Regions from separate parts of the Homo sapiens genome. Here all the other regions are linked to region 1. Evidence: promoter capture Hi-C in 16 types of primary human blood cells and fetal thymus (Javierre and others, 2016). All regions are on one chromosome and are shown on one strand. The core of a region is centred on a gene start or on the middle of the fragment in contact, and the rest is flanking DNA. Distances in the headings are between cores, read along the strand shown.

Region 1 (6,215 bases), core at 1,091-3,590:
AGATCTGCATGTTAATATAGTCTGTGTTCCATGGAGTCTATACTTACCACTAATTATACCCTAATAGAAGTAAAACCAATAAATAAAAGTCCATATTTGTAAATAAAGGAAGGGGAAGAATTTTACTCTCAAATACTTCTCACTTTAGAAAAAAGACTGTATGAAATTTATTTATCAGCTTTGAAAGTACATTTAAATAACGTAACAATGGCATGGCAACCTCTAAAAATGAATCAGTCTTAACAATCCTTTCCTAAAGCAAATAACCACCCTCTTAACTAATGAAAGCTGGTTCACTATTTACAGCTCTACCAGTGGTTCTCAAACTGAGCTAATGATCAAGAATCGCTTGGACGAGCGCCGTGGCTCACGCCTGTAATCCCAGCACTTTGGGAGGCCGAGGGGGGCGGATCACGAGCTCAGGAGATCGAGACCATTCTGGCTAACATGGTGAAACCCCGTCTCTACTAAATATACAGAAAAAAAAATTAGGCGGGTGTGATGGCGGGCATCTGTAGTCCCAGCTACTCCGGAGGCTGAGGCAGGAGAATGGCGTGAACCCGGGAGGCGGAGCTTGCAGTGAGCCGAGATCGCACCAGTGCACTCCCGCCTGGGCAACAGACCCAGACTCCGTCTCAAAAAAAAAAATAATAATAATAATTGCTTGAGGAAGCATCTTAAATATAAATCATAGGGGCAACCCGCTGTGGTCCCCTTCCAAGCTGTGGAAGCTTTGTTATTTCGCTCTTCACGATAAACCTTGTTACCCCTCAAAACAAACAAACAAACAAACAAAAAAAAACCACACACAAAAAAATAGGCTTCACTCCAGTTCTTCTGAATCAAAATCTCTGAGGTGTGACCCCAAGATCTTTATTTTTTAAGCTCTCCAGGGGGTTCTGATGAGTAGGGTTCAGAACTTTTGTTCCCTTAACACCGGCATTCTACAAATGAATAAATTGAGGCCCTAAAAGGGTAGGATTTGCCTAACGACACACAGCTTGTAAGTACACACAGTAGGCTGGAACAACAATATCCTGACTCTCGTTTGGTGCTTTTACACCAATTCAAGCTGCTGTTTTTGGTAAGACTGTACTTATTTCTGCTCTGCTGCTCATGCTTTGCTGGGTACTTAGTATTCACTATCCTACAACTTATTCCCTCATCTGCAATCTGGGAATAATAATAGTGCCTGCCTCTTAAGAGTTGCTGCAAGGATTAAATAGTATAACATTCATTATATAATGCACTTAACACAGTGCCTGGCATATTGTGAGTACTCATTAGCCAGGTTATGTAATCCACTTTAAAAAGTATGCCTATTTTAACTGGAGAGGATTCACTGAACCACTCCAATTACAAAATGTACAAGAAACCCATGTTCAGCTTTGGAATCCAAAAAGACTTTAAACTCAGGGTTAAGTTTAAAGTCATAGTATCTAATGTCTTGCTTTTCTAGTCATTTACTTATGCCAAAAGTTAGTTCACGCCAAGGAGAAGGATGCCTCTGTGTAGTGAAACAATTTCACAATTACTGACTGAACTGACTGTTGCACACCACTATTTCTCCTAGGATGCCTCAGAACCATCTAGTAACTCCATCTCTGGGTGACGACAGGGAATCTGCATTTATAAAAGCCCGCTCCCCCTTCTCAGGCAAACCAAGATTTGATAACCACTAGTATGTTCAGAATCCACGACCACTGTAAATGGCCTCTCAAGTCTCTCCAGCAAAAAGCTATACTGCTCTGTAACCAGAAGAGCAGCGTCATCAGGTCCTGATGCAAACAACAGCTGGGCCCAGCTGGGCCCAGCTGGGCCGAGTAACCTTGATGATCACAGAGGACGGCCTGGACCCCCTCCCCTCCTAGGAAACACAAAATTATAAAAGCGCCCTCCTGCAATTCCCGTGGGAGACAGTGCTGCCTAGGCCGCTACGAGGAGCTAAGGCTGACTCAACAGCCTCCTTCCCAGGGGCAAGGCCAAAGGAAGGCGACCCTGCATGGCTAACCAGGCCCCAGCGCGGCGCCAGAAGGTTAACGACCCTCCCTGCCCCTTTCCTTATGAAGGCCAAGAGCCTCCACTACTCCGGGGGCCAGCTGACGGAAGTGCGTCACTCCACCCTGCGGGGAGTGCCGGGAGTTGTAGTCAAGTGGCTACTAATCTTCCACCCCGATTCATCTTTTCTAAAACAAGAAAAACACCTCTGCATCCTGAAAAAGATCGCTTTATGCCCAACATGTGTAATAGTTCCTCTATTTTCCAATCAACAAACTGAACTATCTCAGAGCTCAAGCGGAAGGCCGGACTACAAGTCCCGGCATGCTCCGCAGGGTCCCCGGGCGCCCGGCCACCGTCGTAGGTGCGGGCCGCATGAATGGAGCGCCGGGCGTAAGGCAAAGCCTGGCACCGTCTGCGCGGCCGCTATCTGCTCCCGGAGCGTGAGTGCGGGGTGTGGGGCGTGCGCGTGCGCGCTCAGAGGGGGCTCAAGGCGAGCGCGCCGGGCAGTTGCGGGCGCGTGGCTGCTGAGGTTGGCGGCGGTGCCGCGCGCCCGACGGGCCGGTGGTTGCGGGGCCTCCCGCCTCGACCCGGGCTGGGGGCAGCCGTGGCGGCCGCCGGGGACCGCAAGGGGCGGAGGAAAGGAGGGGGCCGGTCCCGGCACGCAGAGGAGCAGCCGACCATGCCCCGAGACAACATGGCCTCCTTGATCCAACGGATCGCCCGCCAGGCTTGCCTCACCTTCCGGGGCAGCGGGGGCGGCCGCGGCGCTTCCGATCGCGACGCGGCTTCTGGCCCGGAGGCGCCGATGCAGCCGGGCTTCCCCGAGAACCTGAGCAAGCTGAAGAGCCTCCTGACCCAGCTCCGCGCCGAGGACTTGAACATCGCCCCGCGCAAGGCCACACTGCAGCCGCTGCCGCCCAACCTGCCGCCAGTCACCTACATGCACATCTACGAGACGGACGGCTTCAGCCTGGGCGTGTTCCTGCTCAAGAGCGGCACGTCCATCCCGCTGCACGACCACCCGGGCATGCACGGCATGCTCAAGGTGCTGTACGGCACCGTGCGCATCAGCTGCATGGACAAGCTAGACGCGGGCGGCGGGCAACGGCCGCGGGCCTTGCCGCCCGAGCAGCAGTTCGAGCCGCCGCTGCAGCCCCGGGAGCGAGAAGCCGTGCGGCCGGGCGTGCTGCGTTCGCGGGCCGAGTACACCGAGGCCAGCGGCCCCTGCATCCTCACACCGCACCGGGACAACCTGCACCAGATCGACGCCGTGGAAGGGCCTGCCGCCTTCCTGGACATCCTGGCCCCGCCCTACGACCCGGACGATGGCCGGGACTGCCACTATTACCGGGTGCTGGAGCCGGTCAGGCCCAAGGAGGCCTCCAGCTCGGCCTGTGACCTGCCTCGAGAGGTGTGGCTCCTGGAGACCCCACAGGCCGATGACTTCTGGTGCGAGGGAGAACCCTATCCAGGTCCCAAGGTCTTCCCTTGAAGCCACTGGCGCCCAGGAGCGGTGGGCCGAAGACGTGCCCTACCCTACCACAAGGGCTGTGTCTCTACCCCCTAGCCTGGGCGTTGGATCTACTGGAATGAGCAGCAGCCGCTTCCTCGGCAGCCTTGGGAAGCACGGGCGACTGGACAGCAGCCGCCGGGCACGGTTATGGGGGCGGGGTGGGCGGGGAGGCTAGATTGTTTCCTGGTACTGTCACTGCCACTGGGGCTTTGATTTGGAGGAATGGGGCAGGGGACTATCTGAAGCGCTTCCATCCTAAAGCCATAATGAAAATATCTTCCTCTCTTCCCCATTCTATACAAAATACTAAGTGGTTTTCTTGCTCCCACTCCCTACCCCTTAGTTAAATAGGGTTTATTTTCCACTCATGCCCTTATGCCTTTTTTTCTTATAGTTTTTTAACTTATTGACTGTGCATGACCCAGTGGTTTGAATTGTTTTTAGTTCAAGTCATTGGTAAAAACTAGGTTTAAGGAGATGAGCTACTGTTTAAAGTGAGCTGGCCTGCCTAATTAATTCCTTGTGAAAACTAAATGATTTTTTCAGTTTGGGGATCATTCTCACAACATAACTATGCATGTAGAGGACAAGATTTATTTTCTTTCCTCCCTTTGCCCAGTAGCCACATCTGGTTTACTCAGGCAGCATCTACTAAGAAATTCAGCACCTGCATATCTCTGTGACATGGTCACTTAGAGCTTATCTTCCCTATGAATCTCCAGATCTGTGAGTCGAGCAGATTTCATGTTGCAGATTCACCTTTAATGCAAAGACTGTATTATCCTCACATGACTTTTTTTCTTGTCTTACTGTACCTTAAAAGGTGATAGAGTAATTCTGTATTTTCTAACGGGAAGATTCAAAGGAGCTGAATGTGTTATGCTTCCAAACAACTGAATGTAAAACACTCCTAGCCAGTTGTTGCATTCCCTATATTTATTTACTTCCAATATTTTACTGTAAAAGTAGGGAGAAATATTATGTTGATAGTTGTTTCATATTCTCTCAGGAACTTTAATGTTCCCGACTCGGGTGATTCCAGCTGTGTTGCTGGCAGTGTTGTCTCAACCCTCTCCCTAAAATGACTGAGCCCTGGGTTCATCTAATGTGGTTTTCCTTAGGAAGAGATAGAAGGCACAGAAGATCACAGCTAGAGAATTGAGAATTAACTATACTACTAGCCATTTTAGGGCACCAAAACTTGGGATTAAACACTTCCTACTTCCCACTCCCAACTCCTGAAATGAAGTCTTGCTATCTGTGACTAGTTTTATTTTTGTGCTTTTAATAGTCCGAGCAGTCTTACCTTGTTTACACATGTATTGACACCATTTGCTTCAGGCCATGGAGCACTGTTTCTCCCTTTTTACTATTTATAGGATTCCGTTTTTTCACAAGACTTTTAATAAAAAGAAATTGTAGAAATAAACACATTAAAATTTGCCCAGCTGTCGTCTAAGCCCTCTTGATTGACTTGCCCAAGTGGCAATAGAGTTCTAATATCTATAATAAAGGGAGATTTGCTATTATTAGTGGAATGTTGACCCCGTATGTAGAGAAACAGTACGTGCCTTTGCCTCTTTATGCACACAGAGACCCAGGGTGAGGGAGTATTTGTTCCCAGTTTTTAAGATAGTATAAAAAAGCAAATACTTGGTGAGTGATTTAAAAATAAAACCAAAACAAAACACAAAAAGATATTCCACAGGACATGCCACTTTATTATAAAACCTGACACAGGCATAGTACCAAGTATTTCCTGCATTGTTGCTAAAATTGTTTTATTGTAGCTCCACATTCTGGTGTAGTTTAAAATGCCTTTGGGGGCAGTTTGAAGCAGTTCTTCATGCCACTTAGTTTGAAAATAAAATTCTAGATATGCAAATGATTTTCTTAGAAAACTTCACAAAATAAAAGATCTTGTTTTTTTTTCCATAGCACAGTAATGAATGTGGTTATCAATCACATACTTTTTTGGATTATATTGTAGCAAAAAGTTGATTAGCTTACCAAGATTATTAATAGCAATGTATGTGTTATAATACAACTTAGTACATTAAAGCTACGAAAACTCATCCTGGCTGTAGGATAGTAATAAAGGAAGAATTATGACTTCATTATGAAAAAAAGAAGTTTTAAAGTTTTCAATTACGAGCAATTTGGAAGAAAAAACCTAAGGTGCTTTTCAAAAGAGTAACTGAAATTGTTGCAGGCCAAAACAGCAATATGATATCTCAGATTTAGTTCAATAAGAACAGTGAAACTTTTGGTTCACTAATAAATTCTGAGTAAATTAGTGGTGAAGACAAAATATAACTTGTTTTAGTGAGCCACTGAGGAAAGAATATGCTTATTACAAAGACAAAATGTGGTGCAGAAACTATCTTGCACCTGTGTGCATAAACTGTTAGTCGTGACTGACTTGGTGTGTTGCTATTGTGTTTCTATATACTCCGTCCAATATAGATAATGTTTTAATAACAACTGTGGGATAAAAGTTATCTTCCCCTTGGAAAGACTAATGAGCACAATGATATTAATCACTTTTATGGTGAATAATAAATGCAATAATTGCCTCATGGGTGAGAAATTGTCTGTCTAAATGCTTCTGAAGCTTTTAAAGTATCTGGTTCTGTCACTGGCCAGTTATATCAATGCAGAGTATTGTGTACCTACTTACTATTTTATGAGAATTGATTTT
Region 2 (6,215 bases), core at 1,726-4,225, 910 kb after region 1:
CTCCCAGGTTGAGAGAAACACAATAAAGGAAATTTTGTTGTTGTTGTTTTCAGTGCTTCCTTTTCACAGACTCTTTTTTTGGAAACCGCAACCTCGGATCCCAGCAGAGCTTCCTGGGGACTTGAAGAACATCAATCAGTTTCGCAGCTGGAGGCCGAGGCTTTCCTCAGGGAAGACTTTTTACATAAAACAGATTGTACTTTGTCCTTGCCAGGGCAGACAAAGATTTAAATTAAATATGCAGAAAGCTCCAGTTGGCTGCCTGCCACAGCCTGGGAGAGGGGGAAGGGAGATTGTGTCCCCACTCTCCTTCCTTTCTCTCTAGTTGTTTCTTTTTCCCATTTCTGTTATTACAGTGATAGGAGCCAGCAGTTAAGAGACTTGGGCTTTAAGCTGGGATTTTCTGTAAATTCACTGTGTGATGTGATACAAGTCACTCAGCCTCTGGGACCTCAGTTTCCTCTTCTACAATGAAGAGTTTGAATGAGATGATCTTTGAAAGTCTTTTCCGTATTTAACCTTCCAAGTTATCTCCAAACTCAGATGCATGCTTTTCCAGCAAATACCCTAAGCCTCATCTATGAGTAATGCATCCTCACTGTTCCTGGGGTGACTGGAAGGACCTGGCCTGTTTTCCCATACACCTCACGGGCCAAGCAGTCACGTTATAAGGGAGGGAGGCCCAGTAAAACATGGTAAGTGGCAACTGACTTTGTATCTCAGTTTTAGGGAGTATAAGAGAATGGTGGGGATTGTGGCAAACTGAAGAGAAAGAGTCTTCCCAAAAAGGGGCATCCTCTACCCAAGTTGACTCAAGTCAGTTGTTGCCACTGGGAATGTGGGTCACTGGGACAGCCAGTTCTTCGTGTGGTGTTTTTTTTTTTTTTTTTTTTTTTTTGAGATGGAGTCTCACTCTTTCTCCCAGGCTAGAGTGCACTGGTGCGATCTCGGCTCACTGCAACCTCCGCCTCCTGGGTTCAAGCTATTCTCCTGCCTCAGTCTCCCAAGTAACTGGTATTATAGGCATGCGCCACCATGCCTGGCTACTTTTTTGCATTTTTAGTAGAGATGGGGTTTCACCATGTTAGCCAGGCTGGTCTCGAAATCCCGACCTCAAGTGATCCACCCACCTCAGCTTCCCAGAGTGCTGGGATTACAGGCATGAGCCACCGTGCCTGGCCCAGTTCTTTTTTATAGTGTGAAAGTGCTAAACTTTTAAATATTGGCAATGAATTAAGAAAAACTCTGTGTGCTTCACAAAATAGATAAATAGATCTGTGGGCTGAATTCATCTTGAAGATTAGTTTGCCAGGTCTTCGTGGACCTTAAGAAGATAAGGTCTTCTCTGTCTCAGAACTGTTGAGAAAACCTATGTGTTTAAAAGTGTGTTGTAAGCTGCAGCAAAGTACTAGAGACATAAAAAGCAGAACCTTAATAGGTTGTTCATCATATTTTTCAATATAGAAATTTTACACTGGAGGGTAGGTTTCAGGAAGATAACTTGATCCCTAATCAACTTCCAAATCAAGTCATGGCTGGGGAGTTAATGATTCTGTTCTTTTGTTCATTAAAAATAATTTATAATTTCTACCTCCATATTAAAAATTGATTTCATGCTATTAGCCTTGTGGGAAAAGCAGGCTATAATATAATATATATTTAAACTTCATATTTCTATATTCTGTGGTAAGTGCAGCCTTTTATGTTATGATTAACATATTAAATGAAAGTATCATTTTAGTATAAAATTGAATATGGAAAATTGATATGAGTAATATACATTTTAGTCAATATTTCTGCCATTTGAATTCACAAGGATATAATGTATATCTTCTACAATACTATAATAATTGCAAAAAAAGTATGCAAAGTACAAAAGCAACATGACAGAAGTTCTATTTTCTTTATACTAAAGTATTAAACCTTATCTGCAGAAAGACAGAAAGAGGAACAGAGAGAGAGAGAATCAAATGAAAGTTGAATTTAGTCTTTTAAAACATACATGGTAGCTGAGCGTGGTGGCTCACACCTGTAATTCCAGCACTTTGGGAGGCCGAGGTGGGCAGATCACAAGGTCAGGAGATCGAGACCATCCTGGCTAACATGGTGAAACCCTGTCTCTTCTAAAAATACAAAAAATTGGCCGGGCGTGGTGGCAGGAGCTTGTAGTCCCAGCTACTTGGGAGGCTGAGGCAGGAGAATGGCTTGAACCCGAGAGGCAGAGCTTGCAGTGAGCCGAGATCCGGCCACTGCACTCCAGCCTGGGCGATAGAGCGAGACTCTGTCTCAAAAACAACAACAACAACAACAACAAATACATAGTAGTAGCTAGATTACTTTTGTTTTTTTAACTGTATAAGAAATACAAATTTTAATTTCGGGAATGTGTATGATATATACTGCAGTTTTTAATTTATTTAAGTGATGTGCAAGTAATAGGCACAGGTGATAATTTAGGAAACAAGATAAAGTGAATCCCATATTGAAATGCCATAATTTCAGAGTAAAATAATGGAAATAGTACTTAAATATAAAGCTTTTGCTTTTACATGGATAGATAACAATTCTGTTTTCAATTTTTTTCATGATCTTAGCAACTTAAGACATAAATATTTCATTTCTTTATCCTTTTTTCTAGAGTTTGTCTCATTTTCTTCCCTTGTATTTAAGCTTTTTATCTTTTTGCCTCATGTATATAGTCTCATAGATTTGATCGATTAATGTATAGTTTCTGATGATGGAGTTTAGAACATGCTGCCTCAACATAGAGCATCTTGGCATTTGAGAAAACAAAAGCAGGAAGGACTCTGACCTTCTCCCTTTCTTCTCCTTTGAAGCAGGTCATAAAAGAATTCTCTGACTTTCCTCTGAAGCAGATCATAGTATTGTCATGTGAGAAGTGTCCACCCTATACCCCGAGGAAAGGAGTATCCTTACCTCTGAAGACACAGAAACACAAAGAATCTAAACAAACAGTTCTTGCTAAGTTCTCCCAGTTTATTCTCAATAGGTCATACCCCCTTTGCCCAATCGTCGTACTTCATGGCTATCCACTTCCTCATCAAACTTAGCATAAAAATACACAGGTTTCCCTTTTCTTTGAGTCTTTCTTTCTGAAGCCTCCTGTGGCATATAAAACTTATATTAAATACATTCATGTGCTTTTCTCTTGTTAATCTGTCTTTTGTAGGTACCTCAGCCATGAAGCTAGCAATAGGTGAGGGAAAGAAATCTTTCCTTTCTAAAACTAACTTATAATTTTAAAACACATTTTATGCTTTTAAGCTTTCACTTTAGAATACGTTGAAGGGCGCATGTATATAGTTTTCCTATGAGCAAGGCAAAGTGTGAAGAAATCTTTACCAAGTCAGATGGCATAGGCACAATCAGAATGGACACTGCCATGGTCTAGACAAACACCAGCTGTAAACAACTGTTTCAGACTTATGTTTCTCAACAAGTTGCAACTGTGCAATTATGATCACTAGAATAATTACAGTATGGGAAGTACTAAAACATTTTGGTTATTGTATCAGTCAGGATAATTAACCATTAGCTGCCGCAATAGATCAACTCTGAAATCTCAGGGGCTTTATACAACAAAAATTGATTTCTTGCTCACATAAAATGATGTAGTCAGCAGGGATTCCCCTCTACCCAGAGACCCCATGCCTCTCCATCTGTGTCTAATGCTGCCATATTAACACTTGGTTTCCAAAGTCACTGCACAAGAGACAGGAGAGCTGGAGGAGGTCCCTGGCTCTCAGTGACCTTGACTTGGAAGCGACATTTGATGCTTCTGCTTACCTTTCACCGGCCAGAGCTAGATATATGGCTCTAACCTCACTGCAAGGGAGGATAGAAAATGTAGGAGAGCATCAATTATTTTGTGAGTTTGCAGGCACAGCCCTGGTGATGATTTCTATCTCACATCATGAATTTATTTAACTCAAGGCAACTTGCAACCTTTGCTGCTGACTCACGGCCTGATTCCATGACTTCTTTGCATCTCCTTCTCTTACGGCTCTATCATACCATATTCTTCAATCTATTTCTGGTTCAGATGCTCAAGAGAGACAATTTGATTGCCTTGTTTATTTATTAACATAGTCTCATTTGGACAGAGCTTTTTATTCAGACAGAGTCTCACTTTGTCACCCAGGCGGGAGTGCAGTCGTGCAGTTGTGCAGTCACAGCTCACTGCAGCCTTGGCATCCTGGGTTCATGCTATCCTCCTGCCTCGGCGCCGCCCCCCCCCCGCCCCCAAGTAGCTGGGACTACGGGCACATGCCATCATGCCCAGCTAATTTCTTTCCTATTTGTAGTAGAAATGGAGTTTCACCATATTGTTCAGGCTGATCTCAAACTCCTGAGCTCAAGCAATCTGCCCGCCTCAGCCTCCCAAAGTGCTGGGGTTACAGGCATGAGCCACCATATCTGGCCAGAGCTTTTGTTTTAAATCATATGATAAACACTGGCCAGCTAAATTTCAGGCACCCCCTGCCCCCAATGCCCAGAGTTGTATCTAAGATTCGAGTGGTGTATGTAGCATTAAGGCATTGGAAAAAATACAGTCTTACCCTGTATGTACCCTGTATATATCCACCTTGGCCTTCATGTGACACTGAGCATAGCAGAGATCACCACTTATCTGCAGATATCCATGTACTCTTTCTTTGGTCAAAGAACTACCTTATTTTTACCTAGGCACAGGCTGCCCACTTCCCAGCCTCTCTGAAGTGAGGTGTGGACATGTGTCTAAGGCTGGCAGGTCGGCAGCAAGTGGGAACGGCGTACCTCCTCCTGGCTCAGGCCCTTAAATGGCATCTCTGAACCCTCAGCTTTGCACATCCCTTTTTCTCTTTCTCCCAGGCTGGAATGAGGATGTGGTGATGATGAGTTGGCTTTGTTTCCGTGAGGGCACAAGGATAGCATTCTGTGGGGTGGCAAAGTAACAAGATGAAAGGAACCTGGGCTCCTGGGTGATCTGGTGGTGCAGAGCAGCTCTAGCCCCCTGACCAGTATTACCTTGAACTTGTATGTGGATAGAAATGAGCATTCTATCTTGTTTAAGGCTCAGTTATGTTGGTCTCTTTGAAAACAGCTAAACTGATATCCTAAAGGATACTCCCATTTTCTAGGGGGGGTCCCTGCCGTACCCTCCTTTGTTTCTGATGGTCCAGCCTCTTCTGGTCTGTGGCTTCTGAGAGCTTTGCTTGTGCCGCGTTCTGCATGTTGGCGATATTCGAATGCTTCTTCGCCAGCTGCACTGTGAGAAACTCTGGTCTATGCTCATCTTGCATTTCTGGCACCATTCTCTGCCACCACACCACTCTGTGGCTTTGGAACTTTGTGAAGCTCTTAGCGGACCATCTGCCTAGACATGTCATACAGATTTTCCTTCCACTTCTGCACAAGCCAGATGTGGGGAACTAGAGAGTCCTATAGCTCCCAGATTCCACCCAAAGGGGAGCAGGATACTCAGCTCTAGAATCCCCAAACGTGTTTGGACATTTTATTATTCCTCCCTGTGACCCCAAATATAGGGCTCAGCTTAAGATAAAAGTAGGTTAGACCCAGGGTCCCTTTTCAGAAGCCCACTGGTGTCTTCACTTTTCTTTCAAATCTCTCCATTCTGCTCTATCAGATAAATCTTCTGAGTCTTGGGAGCAGAGGAAGCTCTGTCCTAACAGGGCAGGTTTCCTTCTACACCTTTTATCTCATTTCTGGGGCCTAAGCTTTAGGAAGATTCTGTTTTCTGGATTATGTTGTATCCTCCCTTCTCTGAGGCAATTAAGGCAGAACCTCATGAAGTGATAAACAGAATGCAGTAAATGGACAGAAGTGTCTGTTAATACTTTAGAATTTCACCTGCCATTTAACTAGCAGCCAATATTGTCAAATACTTGTCTTTTAGGAGTTTCTTCAGTCAATAAATCAGCCTGGTTTGTCATGGTGCAGTGGACAGGTCACTGGCTTGTGATTTGGAAGGTTTGTGTTCTACTCCTAGTTTACTCGTCGTTTTTGGAAGCAGACCCTCTATGTCAATAGCAAAGGGCAATTCCAAGTGGTAGTGTTCGTCTGTTTTTATCTGTGGACTTTGATTCTGCTGATTGTGTGACATTGGGAAATTGACCTAGATTTCATGCTTCAGTTTTTACTGTATATTTCCATAGCATGCTCTATCTCAGACTCAGGGAACTTATGTGAAGTGA
Region 3 (6,215 bases), core at 1,944-4,443, 760 kb before region 1:
TTGTCAGCTCCCATTTGACTTTATTAATTACAGTTCCTTGGAAAGTGTGTTTCAGTAACATGGTCTTGGGATGACAGGGCTCACCCTGCAGAGACCCAAATGGAGGTATTCAGGGCCCATTGAAAAACCATCTGCTGCCAAGGCTCTGCTGCTGATCTCATGCAACAGAAACCAGAGTCTGTCGCAGCTCTGCTACTCACTGGGTGACTCTGGGCGAGTGGCAGGCTCTCTGGTCCTGTCTTTTCTGATGTGGAGAATGACTAGCTGGTGCCCGAGGTTTTCCTAAAGCTATGGAATTCCATCATTTTATAAATGACTCCAATGACGAATCCTACTGGCATAACATCTATGGTTTCACCAACTCTTAGCAGTGATCTTTGGTTCCAGATTCATGTGAAAAGCCAAGAACCGCTTTCCACAATTTGTCTTGTCATGACTCTCCGGCTCCATATTTTAAGAAGCAGTCTACACTAGCCCTTGAATCTAGACTCTAATTTTTTAAGATACAAAGGAAATCATTAAGCCCCAGAATATTAGTAGAATATACGGCAATATGGATCAAGTAATCCAAAGTATTAGCAATGTTGCAAGAGGCTGTCACCTAGCAGCTCTGTATTATGTTTCCAGGCCCTCCCCCACTCATTTCCCTGAGCCCCGAGGCTGTGGTTAATAACGTCAAAAGAATGTTTTAAAATTGCCCTTCTGTTGATTCCAGAGAGTTAGGGCCCTCACATGGTTAGAGTCCTGGGCTAAGAGTCAAATTCTAAATTTAATTCCAGCCTCTATGAACATCTTAGTCCCATATTTCCTCACCATTTAGAGATGTTTCAGTTTTCCCATCTGCGAAATCGGCATAAGATGCCTTGCTCCACAGAAATACTTGTCAACAGCTTTGCCGTACACAAAGATTGGCATTGTATTGGGGCAAAATATCATTTTTCATTCCATAATAGGAATTAAACAAAAGCCCTTTGAGAACGCACCTTGTGTAAACGCCCTGTGCTTAAAAGCCTGTGAATTTCAGAGGTCAGCAAAAACCGCCCCCCTTCTTTATTATTTTTCTTAAAGCTAAACAAGGGTAACTAGGGAATTCATTTTGGAATATAAAGACATGAAAGAAAGGGTATTTCAGCTTGCACAATAGTACAAAGAAGAACAAGAGTTGTCATGTTTTGCTAAAGAACTCCCAGCTGTTTAATTTTATAGTAAAATTACTTTAAGAACTTTGCTAATTCAAAGACAAAATCAAACAACTGTTGTTGCAAAACTGAACTTCCACATTTGAGTGGAAAAGCCAATTTGAGATTAATCTGCCCCTAAAATCATATTATAAAAATACAGAGCATTTCTGTAATGCTGGTTGGAGGAGTGGCTTTTATCTGAAGAGAAGACACATAAAAGAGAAAAATGGTACATTTACTGGTAGTAAGATTTAAAAAAGTAGTTTATGTTCTCATGTACTTTGCCCTGACTTCTCCCCCAGCTTTCTCTTAAGCTCTTCAGTCTGTTTTAATACCAGGTTTGTTTGCTTTCTGGGGATGGGCCTGTTAGGCAGGAAATTGTTGAAAGGCATACAGCAGAAATTTTAAATGGTGTTTTTAAAAGATAAATACCCAATTGGGTAACTGACTATTAAATTTGGAGTTCAGAATTTTTTAAAATTTTATTTTTAGACAATATAGAAAGATAAATTCTGTACCTATACTTGGTTCTATAAGTCCCACATGTTGCCTATTGTCAGAAACAAACTGTTCCTTATTTAAAAAAAAAAAAAGAAAAGAAAAAAAGCCAGTTTTTCTTCCATATTAGGGAATTATTCAGACTTCTTTCCTTGGTTCCTATAATTCCAAACCAGTTGGAACATCAGTCTATTTTTGGTTTAAAGGAGCTTTTAAAATGTGAGCATGATTTTTTTAAGTTTCTAAATCTCATAAAAATCAATTTGCCACATATATAGCAGCTATGGTTGTAAATATAGTGAAGTCATTGTATTGCAGAAAGACAAAGTTCTAATTTCCATATTACAAACCCCACCTACCCCACCTTGTCCAATCTCCACATAAGAGGGCTGAAAATGTAAATTCTAAAACATATAAAACAACATAAGGTTGTCATTTGTGGCTGTTTCTATCCAAGATGAATGTTGTCACCTGTATTGGAGTAAACTCTTTTGTTAGTTTCTGCGGGTTTTTTTGGTCGTCCCACCGCATCCCATCGACTCACCACGAGAGGGCAATGGAGCGTTTGCTTTCAGCTAACAAAGCTAGAAATGGTTTTAATATCAGCTAAGTGTTTGAACTTGTTAAGGATTTATTTCTCCACCTTCCGATTGCCATACATGCAGCCTCCGAGTTTCCACTAACAGCGAATAATGATCCAAATAAAGTTATTCTGAGGGAAAATATAGACAGACTGGTGCAGACAAGAGCTTTTGCCCAAATAAGGATCCCTTTTGTGCAGACCCCATGTGTTAGATAACCATCAACTGACAGTTGCTCATGAGTTAATAATGTTGGATGCTGAAATATGCATACCATGTGCTATAAAAGAGTTTGGAGGACAAAGACAAATACTTCTATAGTTAGATATCAGAAACATACCAGAGGTGTGCAGATTGCTTCGTGGTACATAGGTTGAAACCGCCCAATCATTTCATCAAAATTAGTACAATATAAGTATGATACAGTAGAATGTATGATATTGATTGCATGTTTCATTGATGTTGCAGAAATTTTGGTCTAAGCCTTTCTGCATGTTACTGCCTTAAATGCTACAGCAACTACTGCCTTCTAAGAAAAGAAAATATTTCCTAAGCTTCTTTCTATAGCCACCATTGTTGCTCTTTTATTTTTACCATAGGAACCCATTTTACCATGTGTGTGCAGCCTTTTGATTGGCATGTAGTGTTTGGAGGGCTGTTAATGTCTAGTTAGGTTTCTGTGTTGCTGCTGCCACAGGAATCAAAAAGTGAGGAGGTGGAGGGAATCAGCTTTGATTTTGGCTACTATAACAAGTTGTTTGGGAGGATGGGACACAGGGCAAACTGAGCACCGGGCAGCCGCCTTCTCAGTGATGCCTGATGGTTTTTTGGTGCTAAGAATGATTGCGGAAAGAATGTTTCTCCTCCCTGCCCCCAGAGTTCAAACCTTTTTGTTCTGTTCAACTTTTCTGGGCTTATTGGAATGCCAGTCTTCAATGAATAATCTCATATTTTGTCATAAATGGGACCTGAAGCAGGTTGGCAAAGCCAATGAGGCTATGCCCCTGCATTTAGGCCTGACTGTAACTGACCTCTCTATTTATTCTCAGATGAAATGTCCAAAAAGTCAGACCATTAACTTACTCAATAGTTGGAGATTAAGAAGTGTCTACTTCCAAGCAACTAAAATCACTCCAGCTCCATTTTCTCCTATTCAGTTTGTACTGGATGATGAAAATGGCTTACATTATACCCGACCCATATTGACAGCAGGAGAGAACAAGTCATGAAATAAATAATTAGCTAGTTCCTTCCCCTCTCTCTCTCCATTCTCACTCTCTCTCTCTTTCTGTCTCTTCTCCAGTCTGTTGTCAAAGCTTAACATTTACTTTGACATCTTAGTTAAGAAAGTTAATGAAATAACATCTTCATCAGGGCCATTTAGTAGCCTTGAGTCAATGATTACCAGATTTGAATTTTACAGAAGGGAGACCTCAGCTTAAGAAAAATTTTTAGATACTATTATAACATTATATATATATATATGTGTGTAATGTGTATATATAACTATATATAACGTTTTTACATGACTACCCTCCATAACAGTGAATAAAATCTTAAATGTATTGAAACATTGAATCGTGACTTTTGCTGATTATTCTAGCTTCAGATGTTAATCTTGTTCTGTCTGCTCCTTAACACATATTTCCAAGAACATATCTATAATCATAACATTGAATTATTGACTAAACCAGCATCGCCCAAGAGAAAGATAATGTGAGCCACATGTAATTTAAAATATTCTAGTAACCACATTTTAAAAGGTAAAAAGAAACATGTGGAGTTAATTTTAATAATATATTTTATTTAACCCAGTATATTCAAAATATTATCATTTCAATATGCAATCAATATAAAATGTTATTAATGAGATATTTTACTTTTATTTTGTATTAAGTCTTGGAGATCCAGTGTGTATTTTACACTGCGGCACATCTCAATTTGGACTTGACATATAGTATTTCAGATACTCAAGGGACACGTGGCTAGCGGTGACTGTATCAGACACAGCAATTCTAAATAGTCATAGAAATGTTTTATCTTACAGTGAAAAATGTAAAGAAGCTGTAACCTCTTCTGGGTTCATTGTTAGCTTTACATTAGGGTTTCTGATGGTATCTGTGTGCTGTTTCTCTATAGTGTAACAAACCCTCCCTCCAATTGAGTGATCACTCTAGCTTGCCCCACGGCTTATAATCTGCCCTTAGTTAACATGTCACCAGGTATTATCAACCTTGTTGCTGCCTCTCCACGCCCACTCCAGGCCCCAAAGCTCTTCTCATTCTGTACCCTCACCCCACCCTGCTCCAAGACACACGCTCTTCTATACAATCTGTGAGTTTGCATGAGGTTCTTGGTACCACAGAAGAGTTTTTAAAGTCATTTTCCAGTATCTTGGCTCCGGTACCTGCACAAACAAATGAAGCTCAGAGACCACTGAGGTACTTAGTTGGGGATGGTGCTGGTGCCCTCATAGGGAGGAAGGGTGAGAGGGATTTGCCTGAACAAAGAAAAATGTCTCCGAATCTCAGACAACCAAAAATAGTCATCTTTTTACTTTTAAGTAAAAGACTATCCTACTATTCACATTATTCTTTCTGAAAGGTATAAAAGCACAAAGTGAGTGAAAAGCCCCCTTTCTGTACAAATTCCTTTTTGGATCTTTTTAAAAGAATTGGGAGCCTATCACTTGATAACTGTTTCTTATGTGTATGTCTTTTAAATATTAAAATGTATCCCATGACATACTCATCCAAGTATGTCATAAGTTAAATATCTCCATGTTAATCCACATACACACCAAAACAAAAACAAAAACAATCCATCTCTTTTACTTATTTCCAAGTGGGGAATGTTTTCTGTAGAGAGGTAGCAAATCAGTTATCCTCAATGATGAAATGGAATATCTCATTTCCAAACCTGGAGAAATGGCTGAACAAGAATGTCCTGTTTATAAATGAGTTTAAAAACTGTTCTGATATTTACTGCTCTTACAAGGCTATTCAGTACAAAAATGTTGCTTTCACTTCTGTGCTGTCATGTTCAATAGTAACACCAAAGAACATATCAATCATAGACTAGAACGAGCAGATTTATTGATTGTAACAAAAAGAAAAAAGAGAGAGACAAAAAATTAACTCTCTTTGTTTAAGAGGTTCTATCTGTACAACCTTCAGAAATTGTGGAAATCAAAATGTCCTTAAAACACATTTCCAGAGCAGATCCTTAAACAGCCTTAAGAAAAAAAGACAATTATCTTGTTAATATTATATTTGTATTATATAGAACCATACCAAGAAAGACTAAATCTGTATTTATAGAAGAGTTTTCAAAAAATGAAAACAGGAGCTATTTCAAAGTCATAAGAAAAAAACACATAGTATAGCATTGAAACAACATGCTTATTCTCATTGTAATAGCTTCTGTGCATGATCTCCATTGAGAGAGGAGCCTGGGGCCTGGAAATGGCTCGTGGACACCTGGCATCTGGAGAGATGAATAGGAGAAAGGAGTTGCCAGGTAAATGTGAAAGTGGGAGTTTGAGCCTTGATGGCATTTTGAGAGTCCACTTTTGGTTTTACTGAATTTGTGACTTGACAGGACCTTGCAGCTAGCTGGTGGGTGGCATGGGCTGAGAAAACAGACCCTTTGCGTGCAGTATCAGCTCCTAGATAGCACCACCGCCACACCCTTAGGTGTGAGCTAAGTCCTAAGATGTCCGCTCTGCCCTGATGTCTCTTTATAGAATATGTGGAATTCTGGCTGTGCGTCGTGGCTCACGCCTGTGGTCCCAGCACTTTGGGAGGACGAGGCGGTTGGATCACGAGGTCAGGAGATCGAAACCATCCTGGCTAACACGGTGAAACCCCGTCTCTACTAAAAATACAAAAAAAAAATTAGCTGGGCTTGGTGGCGGGCGCCTGTAGTCCCAGCTACTCGGGAGGCCGAGGCAGGA
Region 4 (6,215 bases), core at 1,434-3,933, 540 kb before region 1:
TAAACCAATGTATGCCTATCTGAAAAACATTTTCCTACATTATGCTAATGGAACAATTTCATTGTATAATGCTGGAGGCATATAAGAATGAAAACTGACATTTGTTGAGTACTAAGTATGTAAAAGGCATTACATTAGGTTTTTGTATATATAAAATCTCAATTTTCAAAATGTAAATATTATCATGCCCACTGTAAGGAAGGAACTGAGGCACAAGGAGATTAAAATAGCTATCCCGGCAGGGCACAGTGGCTCATGCCTGTAATCCCAGCGCTCTGGGAGGCCGAGGTGGCCAAATCACGAGGTCAGGAGATTGAAACCATCCTGGCTAACATGGTGAAACCCCATCTCTACTAAAAATACAAATACAAAAAAAAAATCAGCTGGGTGTGGTGGCACACGCCTATAGTCCCAGTTACTCGGGAGGCTGAGGCAGGAGAATCGCTTGAACCCGGGAGGCAGAGGTTGCAGTGAGCTGAGATCACACCACTGCACTCCAGCCTGGGTGACAGAGCGAGACTCTGTCTTTAAAAAATAAATAAATAAATAAAAGCTATCCCATGGCAATATAGCTAATAAGGTTGGCTACTTTGTATCCAGGTCTCTATTACATTACATCCTCATCAAAATTTTACTTTTACAGAAATCTCAGACTCTGACTGGTGTTTTTAACTTACTTTTCAAGAATTTAATGATGCTATGCTGAGCCCAACAGTCACTATTGTCTAACAAGAAACTCTTCCCTTGTGTCAGAGCTGTGAATCAACAAAGGGGAATGTAAGACTGTTTTTATTTAAAATACACCAAAATCCAGCCTCTAAATTGAACCAATTCTTAGGTTCAAGTAAGATTTGGCATTGTAAAAAGTTAGGATATAAATTTCATATACAAATCATAGATCTAATCTAAAAGAACAGCATGAGATGACAGAACACATGAGCAGAAGTTATTAATACTTAGCAAATCTTAAATCTCATTAGCTTCCATCACTTGTTGCATGAATGTCCTTGAGGTTTTTTGCCTCTCTGGGACTTATGTTCACCATATCAAGAGATGGGCTAGCAGATTTTTAAGTTCCTTTCCATTCATAAGGTTTTATCTCTTTATAATTTTGCTGCTCACTCATCTCAATTTCTATACTTGAGTTTCCATGTCTCACAGCTAGTACCTTTATATTAGCATATTTCTAAGCAATTAATTTTCTTACTCTACATTTCTATCAATATTGGTACTTTCTTCTTAAAATGCTCCCTCAGTCATTGCTTCTGGATAATTTTCATTTTATAATTACATATTGAACACAACAGCCCAATAAAAGCTGCTGCCTAAGTTCACTCTGAGCTGTGTCGGCAAACTGTTTATGATGTCAGCTGCTACTTCAGTGTATTTGTTTTTTAAAACAGTTTGGTGATTTGACATTGGTACTTAAGCTTAAATTATACTGTGTTTTAAATTTACATATTTAAGTACATTAAAAGCCACAGGTAAACTATGTTACTAACCATCTTCCAGTCTGATTTGCAATCTGTTCTTCTAATTTCTGTAGCTCCGATGTATAGGCCATTAGTCGAGCATTGCACACCATGAGATTCTTAACTGCATGTAAAACTTGATCTTTCTGAGTGCTCAGAGAAAGGAGTTTCCATATTCCTTCTCGCATTCGAATTTCTAAGTCTATTTTTTCTTGAATGTTGCAGTCCTAAAAAAAAAATGCATCTTGAAAATATAGCAAAAACCCAAAATTACATCTTAACCCATAATAGATCGAAAATAGGTATCATAATTGTATACCATATTGAGAAAGCAACAAAGTTTTAATATATGTAGTGTAAAAATAGCTATTTTAAAATGCTCTTTGCAATTCTAAACTTCTTGCTTCATTAGGAAGTCTTTACAATCTAAAGAAACGGAATAAACGAACATAAACAAAGGTGAGAAACATTATGTGTTCTTATAACTATACGAAGTTTAATAGCATCCCTCCAAAATTTATGTCCATCCAGAACCTCAGAATGTAGCCTTATTTGGATACAGGGTTTTGCAGATGTAATTAGGTAAAATGAGAACATACTGGATTAGAGTGGGTCCTAAATCTAATGACTAGTGTCCTTAAAGAAAGGTCCCATGAAGACACAGTCACATACAGAGAGAATGACATGTGAAGACAGAGACTAATATGTCTATAAGCCAAAAAAATACCAAGGATTGATGGCAACAATCAGAAGCTGGAAAAGGCAAGAAAGGAATTCTTTCCTAGGGCCTGCAGAGGAGCATGACCCTGCCAATTCCTTGATTTCAGACGTCTGGCCTCCATAAGTTTGAGAATAAATTTCTCTTGTTTTCAGCCACTCAGTCTTGGTCATTTGTTATAGCAGCCTTAGAAAACATACAATAACTAATGTGAACAATATATCACACATATATATTATATACATTGTATTAAGAGATGGCAGTGTGGTTGATGACAGTGAATTAACCAAGAAAAACATTCTGAAAAAAGCAGATACTGAGTAAAGGAGCCAAGGTTTAGTAGCAGGGAGGAAACAGGCTATTTGTAACAGTAGGCAGTGTAAATACAATCTCAGAAGCAAGAGAGTGAAAGCGCTGTACACTGAAAATGTCAGAAGCCTTAGCTATCTGGAACAGAGCTTTAGAATACAATTCTGGACATACCATTTATTTTAGTTTTAGGGTTCACCATGAAACTACTAAGTATTTTATTGCTGAAAGTCTTTTATTCCATATAATTATCTTTTAATGGCCTGATTCTACATATAAGTTTCACACGCAACATTAAAATTCTACAAACTGAATGTACAGTTCTGATTTAATTCACAATGACTTTATAAAAATTATAAATCAAAGGTACTCTTTATTATATCACAAACATGTAATGTTTCTGGTATGTCTATTTCTAAAACATAAAGTGACCATCCTAGTTTCTATGGCAAAAAAATAAAGACTATAATTTACCTTCTGAATGGATCAAAATGTAAATTTAAAAATGTAAATGAAATCTAATACCAAAAGGTCTATACAACCTTTTCAAAAAGAAAAGATGAAAGTTAGGAGAGCTAATAGTTTTTGAAGACTACCCCAAAAGACAAACTACAGTAGATGATTTAACTTGACTATCCAAATCAATCAACTGTACTATTTACACACAGAAAACAGCTGTTTAATTACCTTCTGTAATTACATCATGTAATCACCACATAAAAACCTTCTCATATAGTGTTGTAACTCAAAACTGGTGTACTATATAAATGTAGTCATTTGCTGGTTTTCCTTCATTACACATGACTGAATTTCAACAACTCCATTTCATCTTTTTATGACTTACTAGCCCCAAAGTAAATTCTTCTTCAATGTAATTAGCAATTAATTATAAGAATTATCTATGTGACCCATATGTCTATAGAAATAAACTCTGGCAGACTGACTATATTGGGGAGTGCACATAGGGAGCAACCTAAAGCTGGGATGAATAGCTTTACCCCACAACTCAAATATAAACAAATACCATCTGGTGCCACTAAATTCAACTTTAGTTTTAAATGATACAATGAAACAGGCAGTTGAACTAGCACAGTGGTTCTCAAAGCTGGCTGCATATTAGAATCATCTGAGGCAGAGAGGAAGGGCCTTATAGAAGTACCTAAACCTGTGACCTACCCCAAACCAATCAGGCTCTCTGGAGGTGGGGCTTGAGCATTTTTTTTTTTTTTTACAGTTCCTCTGGTGATTCAATGGTCAGCTAGGGTAGAGAAGCACAGCTGGACTATTTGAAATTCCACAGCAATCTTGAAACTTGCAACAACCTTAAAGAACCAGCAGGTGGCTACAGCCACATTAAGGAATCAGTTTGTGTTTCTATCACATAAATGAAGAGTATCTTCTCACCATCACTTATAATGAAGACTCCATAAAACTATAGAAGCTTGGGAAATAGTAGAGAAAGAAAATGTAAAGTCAGGATTAAAAAAAAAATGTACGTGTAAAAAGTTTGAAGATGATGTAAGATTAAAGTACTATTTATTAAGGAAATGAGGTGTATCTAACAGATACTACTATTAAGATTTTTTCCTTTAGAGCAAGGGTCAGAAAACTATGGCCTGGCTGGGACCTGGTTTTGTAAATAAAGTTACACTGGAGCACAGACACACTCATTCATATTGTCTATGGCTCCTTTAAGCTACAAGGGCAGAGTTGAGCAACTTCAACAGAGACTGAGTGGCCTGCAAAGCTGAAAATACTTACTGTTTGCCCCTTTATAGAAATAGTTTACTGACCCATAATCCAGCCAAATTAACATACACAGTAAACTATAATCTTACCTCCCTCGCTGAGGCAGGTCTCAGGCAAATGTCAGTTAAGTGGATCCCAGAAGGCTAACATAAGCAGGATGAATTGTTAAGTGTACATATGGTTTTCAATGTATTCTGAGCTGTTGGTTTTTTTTTTTTTCTTAAGGCTACTGTTTTAGCCAGTTTTGTATTTCCCATGCAACTTCTTTTAGTACACATCTACATTTTACATGCAGAAAAAGCCTCTCTGGTTAAGCAGTGCTAGCTCTAGCAAGGAAGGGTTTATGGAACCAAAACTCTTTAGAGTTGTCTTTAGTTACTAAGGGTATACAATGCATCAGGGGTAAGGGTTCATGTCTAGTGCTATCCCCAGCAAGAATAATGATCATGTAATAAGGGTACCGATTGGGCATTCAATAGTGATGTTTATTAACCTCAAAGAAGATGAGTAGGGAATGGAAAATCATCAGTGTCGCTCCCTCAGCCATAATGGCTTGGCCAGGTAGAGTCAAGGCTGATTAGGACCAAAGACAAAAGCTGGTCTCTCTGTAACCATTCCTTTTAGGATTGTTTGAATGCCAGTCTCCAGGAACAGCAGAGAATGAGGTAAGGCCATCATACTCTTATTTCTTTTCCAATTTTCTGAGTAAGGGCTTGCCTCTAATCAAGTCAAACAGAAGCCTGTGTCACTGTCCTGACGCTATAAGTAGTTAAAGTCAGGCTGATAAAAATATATGGACAAGGCTATGAATGAAATAGGAGCATACCTTAAAAACAGAAATTTAGGTTAAGTAGGAAACAGAAACCTACTAGGTTTTAAGAGCTAGCCTAGCATGAAGGAAGTGCAAAGAAAATGGCTTTATTGTTGGTATTAAAAACTGACTAAAAAAACCTGAAGTTGAACTCCCGGTAAGACAACCGCAGTAATCAAGACAGAAACTATGATTCACCTAATGGATATAGTTAAGCCATGTTAACAAAGACCAAGGTGAAGAAGAAAAGAGTAAATACAGTACGTTCTCATTTTGCTAAAAGAAACTGTGTGGATTTTAAGAATTGTTTATGTACAGAAAAAAGTCTGGAAATTGTTAACAGCGGCCATTCTGGGGAATGGAACTGGAGACCGAATTCTTAAATTCATGTTTCTGTATATGTTGACTTTTCTGCAATGAGATAGTATTACTTTTTGAATTTTATTTTTATTAAGATGCCAAAAGCTTAAACATTTGTAAGAAAAGTAGGGGACTGCCCTAACCACTCAGATGAATAGGACAAAGGATAATAACAACAATAGTCATCTCTGAAGCACATCCTGAGTGCTAGGTGCTGTGATAAGTACTTTAGAGAGGTTCTCCAATTCCAACAGCTGTCTGGGATAGGCGGAATACCCAAGCTACAACGGTGGAAACTGAAACTTAGAAAACAGAGATAACTTATTCAAGGTTGCACAACAAGAAGAGTTTGGTTTGACCTGAATCTGACTCCAAAGCCAATACTCTATGCTGTGAGGAGTCGCAGAGGACTCCAGGGTTTCAGCAGAGGTGTTTGACCAGTGTGTGACCACCTCAAAATCTTTGGCCTTATCTCGATTACGTGGCAGCTTCATTCATGTATCAAAGGAAATACCAAATAAAAATTCAGTGTTAGTCAAGTATAAAATTATCTGACTCTCAATATTCCTGTTAGGTTGCAACCTACTACTATTTTGTGTTTTTTCTTCAAATCCAAACTGAGGAAGTAATTCCACATTTCAATCATTTTGATTTTGTCCTGCCTAAGAAATTAAGTATTGTATCTTCCCACATGTAAATAACCCAGGCTTTATGTATATTTAAACATTTATTTTCATTCCATGCAACTAAACTTCATGATTTTATCCTCTTGTCGCTTCTGTACCATTCCTATTCT

Evidence for each region. Contacts are between HindIII fragments. The CHiCAGO score rates a contact against its expected background, and 5 or more counts as called.
Region 2: a contact is called between a fragment that was not itself captured here and the fragment with the promoter of ADO in region 1, in 1 of 17 cell types (erythroblasts). The highest score is 5.1, in erythroblasts.
Region 3: a contact is called between a fragment that was not itself captured here and the fragment with the promoter of ADO in region 1, in 2 of 17 cell types (neutrophils and fetal thymus). The highest score is 6.0, in neutrophils.
Region 4: a fragment that was not itself captured here is called in contact with the fragment with the promoter of ADO in region 1 in 1 of 17 cell types (M1 macrophages); the score reaches 5.1 in M1 macrophages.

The regions. Positions count from the first base shown.
Region 1 is chr10:62,802,380-62,808,594 of GRCh38, forward strand. ADO (2-aminoethanethiol dioxygenase) reads left to right here and starts at 2,341. Exons shown (of 1, transcript NM_032804.6): 1 at 2,341-6,100. The coding sequence starts at 2,681. The coding sequence ends at 3,493. RefSeq lists enhancers at 2,096-2,355, 2,826-2,945 and a silencer at 2,396-2,645. The HindIII fragment of the contact is 5,397 bases long and covers 730-6,126 here.
Region 2 is chr10:63,713,330-63,719,544 of GRCh38, forward strand. No RefSeq gene overlaps it. Among named protein-coding and RNA genes, the nearest start is that of REEP3, 200 kb to the left of the region's middle. RefSeq lists an enhancer at 1-625. The HindIII fragment of the contact is 615 bases long and covers 2,669-3,283 here.
Region 3 is chr10:62,036,610-62,042,824 of GRCh38, forward strand. All of the region lies in intron 4 of ARID5B (AT-rich interaction domain 5B), which reads left to right. Among named protein-coding and RNA genes, the nearest start is that of ARID5B, 140 kb to the left of the region's middle. RefSeq lists an enhancer at 4,570-4,629. The HindIII fragment of the contact is 762 bases long and covers 2,813-3,574 here.
Region 4 is chr10:62,261,123-62,267,337 of GRCh38, forward strand. RTKN2 (rhotekin 2) reads right to left here. Exons shown (of 12, transcript NM_145307.4): 2 at 1,503-1,699. The region is part of intron 1 of LINC02621 (long intergenic non-protein coding RNA 2621); the gene reads left to right. Among named protein-coding and RNA genes, the nearest start is that of RTKN2, 4.6 kb to the right of the region's middle. RefSeq lists an enhancer at 3,502-4,003. The HindIII fragment of the contact is 2,510 bases long and covers 1,429-3,938 here.